Linked DNA regions of Homo sapiens: region 1 is linked to region 2. The links are contacts of gene promoters, found by promoter capture Hi-C in blood cells and fetal thymus (Javierre and others, 2016). All regions are on one chromosome and are shown on one strand. Each heading gives the region's core, a stretch centred on a gene start or on the middle of the fragment in contact. The rest is flanking DNA. Distances are from core to core; before and after follow the strand shown.

Region 1 (3,558 bases), core at 618-3,117, 2.0 Mb after region 2:
CCTTCATTTCTATGAAATCTTCTCTGACAGTCTCAGCTAGAATTTCTCTCCTCTCCACACAAATGTCTGTAAAAAGGGATATTATAGTGATGCATAACCTACATATTATTGTGTAGAGAAAACTATCTTATGCAATACAATCAATACCTGTTGTTGGTTTGCTAATTGAAAAAGTTAAAGTATCAAATAATTTTTAAAAGGATATATTCTAAATTTTTATGCTAACCTAAAACAGAGATACATAAAATTATTATTCTTTTAGTACTGACAAATCTTTTGAGTACAGAACTGATGATTGTAGTTTATCATTATTTTTCTTGAATAAACATCACTATATTCTATATGGAGATTCTTTAAAATGGAGCAACCTCCTAAATACATTTGTATGAGAATCTAAAGGAATACTTTTTATAGACATTTATAGTTTGTACCCCCTCAAACATTTATTGTTGTCCTGCCTTGACTAAATTTGACAGCAAGTTTATGTGTTGGCTCTTTTTTGTGGCTAATAAATTGACATTAACGAGCCTTTCTAAGGCATTGTATTAGTTTTATGTTGCTGAATAATAAATTATTGTAAATTTAGCAGCTTAAAACAACAATTATTTATTACTTCACAGTTTTCATAGGGCAGGGCTCCTGGCACTTAACTGGTGCCTCTACTCAGACCCTCTCAAGGCTGCAATCAAGATGTCTGCCAGATAGCATTCTCATCTAATTCCCAGCTAGGGGGGAGTCCTTTCAAGCTTCTTCAGGTTCTTGGCCAAATCCATTTCCTTGAAGCTTTTTGACTGAGGTTCCATGCTTCCTATTCACTGTTGGCTAGACGCCACTCTAGAGGCTGCCCACTGTTCCCTGCCAAATGGCTCTCTCCAACACATGGAGAAACATGGCATCTTCAAGGTCAGCAGAAGAAGCTCTATCTTCAGTATGCTGAGCAGAATCTTAGGTAATATCATACAATCGTGGGAGAAACATGCCACCAGTTTTACTATACAACATAACCTAATCAAGAAAGTGGTATCTCATCACCTTTGTCAAATTCCATTGGTTAGAAGCAAGTCATAGCTTTCACCTGCACTTAAAAGTAAGAGATTATATAAGAGCATGAGTCACTGGGGTTCACTTTAGGGTATGTTCATGACAGGCATTCAAATTAAATTATTTTCCATAGAAATACTAACTCTCTTTTTGTATATATCTTTCATTAGTTTATCGAACATACATCAGTATATCAAACATATAATTATGAAATTTGAGTATCAGGTTAAATGAGTATAAGCTGACTTGGTGATGAACACAATTGACTCTTGAGAAATATACAACTCAATTGGTAGGAGTTTCATTCCACTGTAGGACTCCAGAGTATGTTTTACAGAAAGAATAGGCAGTGTCTGTAAAGCCAGTGAGTCCATGTAAATGAGATGGCCCAGAGAATTACATTGAACTGATTTTTAATCATATTTATCATTTGAAGTTATGGCCCATGACTTTATGCACACATACACACACACATACCCCTCATACTGTGCTTTGTATACAACAAACTCTCAACAAACAGAAACTAGATAAAGGAAGCTGGTCAGGCATTTCAATACAAGTGCCATAGAAACTATTTAGAGGAAGTAGTTGGTAAACGCAAAATGATAAAAGTTCAATAGTCTGTTTTGTTGAAATAGTAAAAAAAAAAAAAAAAAATGAGCTAAAAGGAATTAGGTATTAACTATTCTAATTCTCTTATTTCATAAATGTGGAAGCTTGGGCCAAGGAAGGTTTTCACTAAGTCAGTATTGCATGCTTATTTTATTTATGAATTCACCATAATAAGGGGAAGAGAGAGACATAAGCCATGTTCTGTGAAGTCACAATGAAGCACAAGCGTGGTTAGGTTAGAAGTGGAGATCTGAGAAAGGTTAAATGTGGGGCACTGAAGCCCAGTCCAGAAGAACCGGAATAGACGAAGAGAGAAAAATGAAGGAAAGCTTAGATCTGATGGAAAAATACAAAATGTGCTAAGCCATGGAGGCATGAAAGTTCACAGTTTACTCAGAGAACATAAAGTGAACAATCTTATTTCTAGAGGAAAAGGTGTTTTCAGGGAAGTTGATACGAAAGGTCAAAACAAAATTGTGAAGGGCCTTTGGTTTCTTGCTAAGTGGTATCACTAATGTGTTCTAATATATGATGGAGATCCATAGGACATTTGGGGGTAATAGTAGGATCATAGGTGTTAGGTATATTACTGTGCATGCAGTTTATGAGCTGAGCTGAAGAGAAGACTTAGAAATACTTCAAGAGGAGGTGTATACCTAATCTGGGAACACCAAAGTAGTAGTAAATAGGAAATCCAGCTGGAATCACACTCAAAGCCCAGAGTTACTAAAAGAACATAATTATGAATATTAAATTCTCTTGGGATTGTGACACAAATAAGAATGGGTAGCAAGAAAGTTATCACAACCTTCATTGATTTTGTGGATGTGACTTGAACATCATTGGTGACAGTGACAGGCAATGAGGGTGGTATAATTTGGGAATGGCTTCCAAGAAAGTGAACTCAGGGAAGTGGCCTCAGGAGGATGAGCCAGTATAAGTGTTGCATCCCAGTGAGCTTACTATTGGTCCTGGAGAATGCTCCTGGAAGAATGAAAAACTGCCACTTAAAGGTTATAAGTATGTGCTCTTAAAAGAAAGTTAAGAGTTTGGGGTAGTTGAAGAGGTAGAAATTATTCCAAAGATAGTTAATAAATATAGAAAATTTCCTGGGCAATAAAAGAGAAGGTCCAGAGTGTGTATGTAACACAAGGTTTGAAGTTGTGTAAGACAGGAAAAGATTAAGAGATGGTCATTATTTTACAAGCTCATGCTAGAATTTGGATTCTCTCACTATACAAAAACACCACATCAAATAGTTACATGGCTTATAGCTACAGGTACATTTCCTTGAAGTGTCACCTCACTGCGAGACTTACAACTTGTGTAAACTTCAGCTGGATGACTTCATTAAACCAGCATTGTTCAATGACATGTTTCTGAAAATGTGTTTTCTTGTAGTGTCTAGCAGGGTCAGCAAAGAAACTGTTAACTAAAACATATCACATGAAAGTTTTACATACACTCTGGTTGTGTCAAAGCATCTCCTCTTTATAAACCCACTATAAATGTATGTAAATTCATACAATACTCAGCAAATATCATGTAACTTTCTTTAATGAGATATTGAAACATCTGATGAAAGTGGGAGCTCAATTCCACCCTGAAATCCCACTTTAACTCTTTCTCCATCCCAACCAACCCTTTTTGTATTACTATTCAAGTTTACTGTTCAATCTCATCTTTGCATGGTGACACTTCTACTATTCACGTAGGACTGTGTTTCACTGTTGCTTGTTTTGTCATTTTTCTTCCAAGTCAACTTCTCTCTGTCAAGTACAGCAAAGCTCAGCTCTCTCCTGTTCCAGAAAATTTCACTCTGAACCATGCTATTTCTTTTGACTCCACCTTGTCTACTTTAATATTCATTCATACATCTTGAAAGAGCTGTCTACACTTTACAAT
Region 2 (3,562 bases), core at 479-2,978:
GTGTGTTTTCATCTTTAAAACCACCAGCTGTAACAGCATCTTCGGCGGCTCTCCACACTACTGTTTATTAAAAACGGAACATCCATACACATCCCCTACAACTTCCTTAGCCCCGTGCTCCTTCCCTGCCTGGCGATCAATCTCTCTCAGAAAGCATTTAACTTGCCCACATAGATCCAGCACCGATTCATTCCCGCTGCACATCCTATATATTACTGTTAGGAAGCGGAGCACTGGGCTAATTTCGTCACCCACCAGCCACCCACACACATTCTACAACTGAACACGTTTGGGGCTCTGCTTTAAAGATAATAAAACAAGGAGAAAACAGGCAGGCTGCGGACAATTCCCATGACCACTTTCCTAAAAAGTTGCTGTGTTTTAATTCTTTGATTATTCTGTCTCCCCCTCCCCCAAGCACTCACTGGCAATGATCGCTTCAAGGGAGAAATAATGTACTATAAAGCTCTCTGCATGGTGAGTTTGGGATAAATTAGGGTACACCTTTCAAAATGCAAATCTCGCACACACATATTTTTTTCCCAAAGCCCCGCTTTCCTGGGAAGGGGACTATCCAGGCTTGCCAGACCCCCCACTCCACCCAGGGGATGGCTGGTTCCTTGCTAATTCTTGCCTTAGGTTTTATCACTGGTTCCTTCAAACATCCAACCCCCCCACCCCCAACACACACCACCATTCACACCACAATCAGATTATTGAGGCACACAGCTCGACAGGGAGAGTTTACTGTTACATTTAAATAAAAATTTCTCTTTGAATTTGTCACCTCTCTCCCTTTTAGACGGCTGCGCTCCTGCTACTCTAGCCCGGAGCAAAGGATGAGGAGACCACCTCCTTTAGTATTTTCAGCACCACGGCGATGGACAGCACCCTCGGTCCTCGGCCGGCCAGGAGCCCGCGAGTCCGTCCGCTCAGCGTCCTGGGCTCGACCGGTGCAGCCTTCCCCATCCCCATCTTTCAGGTCGCTGTACCCAAAAATCCAAGCCCCGTCTCCTCGATCCCCTCTCTCTTTCTCTTCATCGGCGCCCGCTGCTCTCTCCATGGCATCGTTCCTATCAGCACCTCGCCCAAAACCCAGTCTTGCCCCAGCGAACAGCTCCCCACGCACCCCAGCTCTGGTCTCCGCTGCCCGAGCGCCTCCCTCCACCGCGCCCGCCCGAGGCTTCCTCTCGCTTAGTCCGCCGCTCGTCAGTCGCCGGCCGGCCGGTCGGCCCGCCAGCCCGCTCCTGCTCCCCGGCAAAGTTGGGAGGGAAAGGTGTACTCACCTTTGTGCATGCCTGTGAACCTGTCCTTCAGAACCGTAAGCTCGTAGATTTTGCCAAACTCCTCGAAGAGGGGCTTGAGGTCCTTCTCATCCAGGTTGCGGGGGATCTGCCCAATGAACAGCTTGATGGCATCGTGGTCCTTCATGGGAATGGTCGACGGGTTCCCCGGGCTGTGGCTTAATCCGTTCATGTGCCCGGCACTGCCCGGGCTGCTGCCGAGCCCGTTGGTACTGAGGCTTGCGTTGTCAGCCTGTCCGTTTGCTAACGTGGCCATCTTTATATACATAGAGAAAATCTTCTTTCCTTTTATTCTTTCTCGCTCACACTCTCTCGCTCCTCTCTCTCGCTCGCTCGCGCTCACACACGCACACGCATACACACACTCGGGTTCTCTCCCCCTCGGTTTCTCTACACCTCGCTCTCCGCTCGCTCTCTGCTCTCTCTCTTTCTCCTCTTCTCTCGCTCGCTCGCGCTCGCGCTCTCTCTCTGCTCTCCCCCCTCTCTCTCTCCCTCCCTCCCTCTCCTCTCTCTCTCCCTCTCTCTCTCCCTCTCTCTCTCCCTCTCTCCTCTCTCTCTCGGTCTGATCTGATTTTTTTTTTCTTTTTTTCTTTTTTTTTTTTTTTTTTTTTTTTTTACATTGAACAGACAGGATCTCTGTCCTTTCCGTTTAAACAGGCTGGACCGGTTCAAGTTCCCAGCCAGACCAGGGGTGGGGGTGGCGAGTGTGCGCGCGCGGAGGAGGGCGCGGGGGGCCGGGAATGGGCGCGCTGTGGGGGCCCGCGCCACGGCGGGCGGCGGCCGGGGGCAGGGCGGCGTGGGGCGGCGGCCACCGCGCCTCCCCCGTCGGCGGCCCCGCGCCGTGGCGATGGTACAGTCCGAGACGGCCCCCGGCTATAAATAGCGCCAGGCGCATGGCTCTTCGGGAGGCGCTGAGATTCCGGGCCCGGCGGCCGCGGGGAGCGGGTGTCCGTGAGGAGCCGGGCAGCCGGCCTCCTCTCTTTGCCTTTTGGGGGTTCTTTTTGTAATAGCAGCAGGTGCAACTTTTTGTATTTTAAAAATAGTGATTTTTATTTTCGTGTGGGTATGTAGGGGGGCTTTATCCACCAAGCTATGCTCTATTAGGGCGCCAGGCGGGCGAAGCAAAGGCAGGGATGGCGGGCGGGGCGGCGGCGGAGGTGGAATGGGCGCTTTTTTCTTCCATCTGGCTTTATTTATTTATTTAGACTAGAAAAGCGAGCCGGCTTGGAGGGAGTCCGCCCGGGGATCCGAGCGCGCATTCATCAGTGTCGAGAGAAAAAAAGCTACATAAATATATATTATGTGGATAAATCTATAGACAAGAGCTCTCTCGCGCGCGCTCTCTCCCTGTCTCTCTGTGTGTGTCTTTCTCTGTTTTTTTTTCCTCCTCGCACCCCCAACCTGCCAGAGCAGCCCCACATCTTCCTCCCGCCCGGCATCTACCGCCACCCAAGCCACCTGCCAGGATGGGGCTGGGAGCTGTCGGGCCGCGCCGGGGGGCAGAGGGACGGGGAGTAGAGACTCGGGGTCCGACCCCCGCCCCAACCCGCTTCCGAAGGCGGAAGGTGGGGGTCCCCGTCCCGGGCGGCCTCCCCCGCCCCGGAGAGCGCGGCTGGTCCCCCGGTGGCTGGCGGGAGGAAGGTAGGAGTCGGGCGCCCCTGCCCGCTCGCCCGCCGGAGGGGGAGGAAGGCGCTGGGCGCGGTGGCCGGTGAGCCAGCGCGGGGGATGGCTTGATTTGCCCTCGTCTGCTTTACGGGTTCAAATAGAATATATTTTTTTAATCACCATCAAAAGAATAAAGCCCCTGAATCGCTATCTGGGTTGCCGCCGGACCGAGACTCGCGCGGCGTGCGCTGCCCCCGCGGGTTTCGTTTTCGGCACCTACAGCTCCCGAGGTGCGAGGCTGAGTCGTTCCTGCCGTGGGGACCGGGGGTCGAGCCGCCCGGTCCGGACCCCGCCGGACTCCCCGCCAGGCCCACTGGGGCTGGCATCTCGGCTGCGCGGGAAAGGGAGTGGCAGGCGCGGAGCCGGGAGCAGGGTCCGAGCGGCCCCGCCTGTAGGGGTGAATACTGGTGGTGAACTTGGCTGGGGTAGCAGATTTTCACGTTAATGATATTTACCTGCACCCCGTCCTCTCTCATGTTTGCTTTTTCAGGGCAGCCTCTTCGCTTCAGAAGCCTGGCAAATTGAAATAACGCGCCCGCTCCCCCGCGGGCTGCGGGGCTGGGGAGCTGGGGCGGCGGGGCTGAGCGGCTGGC

The links. The method cuts DNA at HindIII sites, captures the fragments that hold promoters and counts their contacts. A CHiCAGO score of 5 or more calls a contact.
Region 1: a contact is called between a fragment that was not itself captured here and the fragment with the promoter of CELF4 in region 2, in 1 of 17 cell types (non-activated CD4 T cells). The highest score is 5.2, in non-activated CD4 T cells.

The regions. Positions count from the first base shown.
Region 1 is chr18:39,550,034-39,553,591 of GRCh38, forward strand. The region is part of intron 2 of MIR924HG (MIR924 host gene); the gene reads right to left. Among named protein-coding and RNA genes, the nearest start is that of MIR924, 70 kb to the right of the region's middle. The HindIII fragment of the contact is 225 bases long and covers 1,756-1,980 here.
Region 2 is chr18:37,564,070-37,567,631 of GRCh38, forward strand. It overlaps CELF4 (CUGBP Elav-like family member 4), which reads right to left and starts at 1,729. Exons shown (of 13, transcript NM_020180.4): 1 at 1,287-1,729. The coding sequence starts at 1,572. It overlaps LOC124904288 (a long non-coding RNA gene), which reads left to right and starts at 2,208. Exons shown (of 2, transcript XR_007066345.1): 1 at 2,208-2,320; 2 at 2,510-2,619. RefSeq lists an enhancer at 1,273-1,776. The HindIII fragment of the contact is 19,532 bases long and covers 1-3,562 here.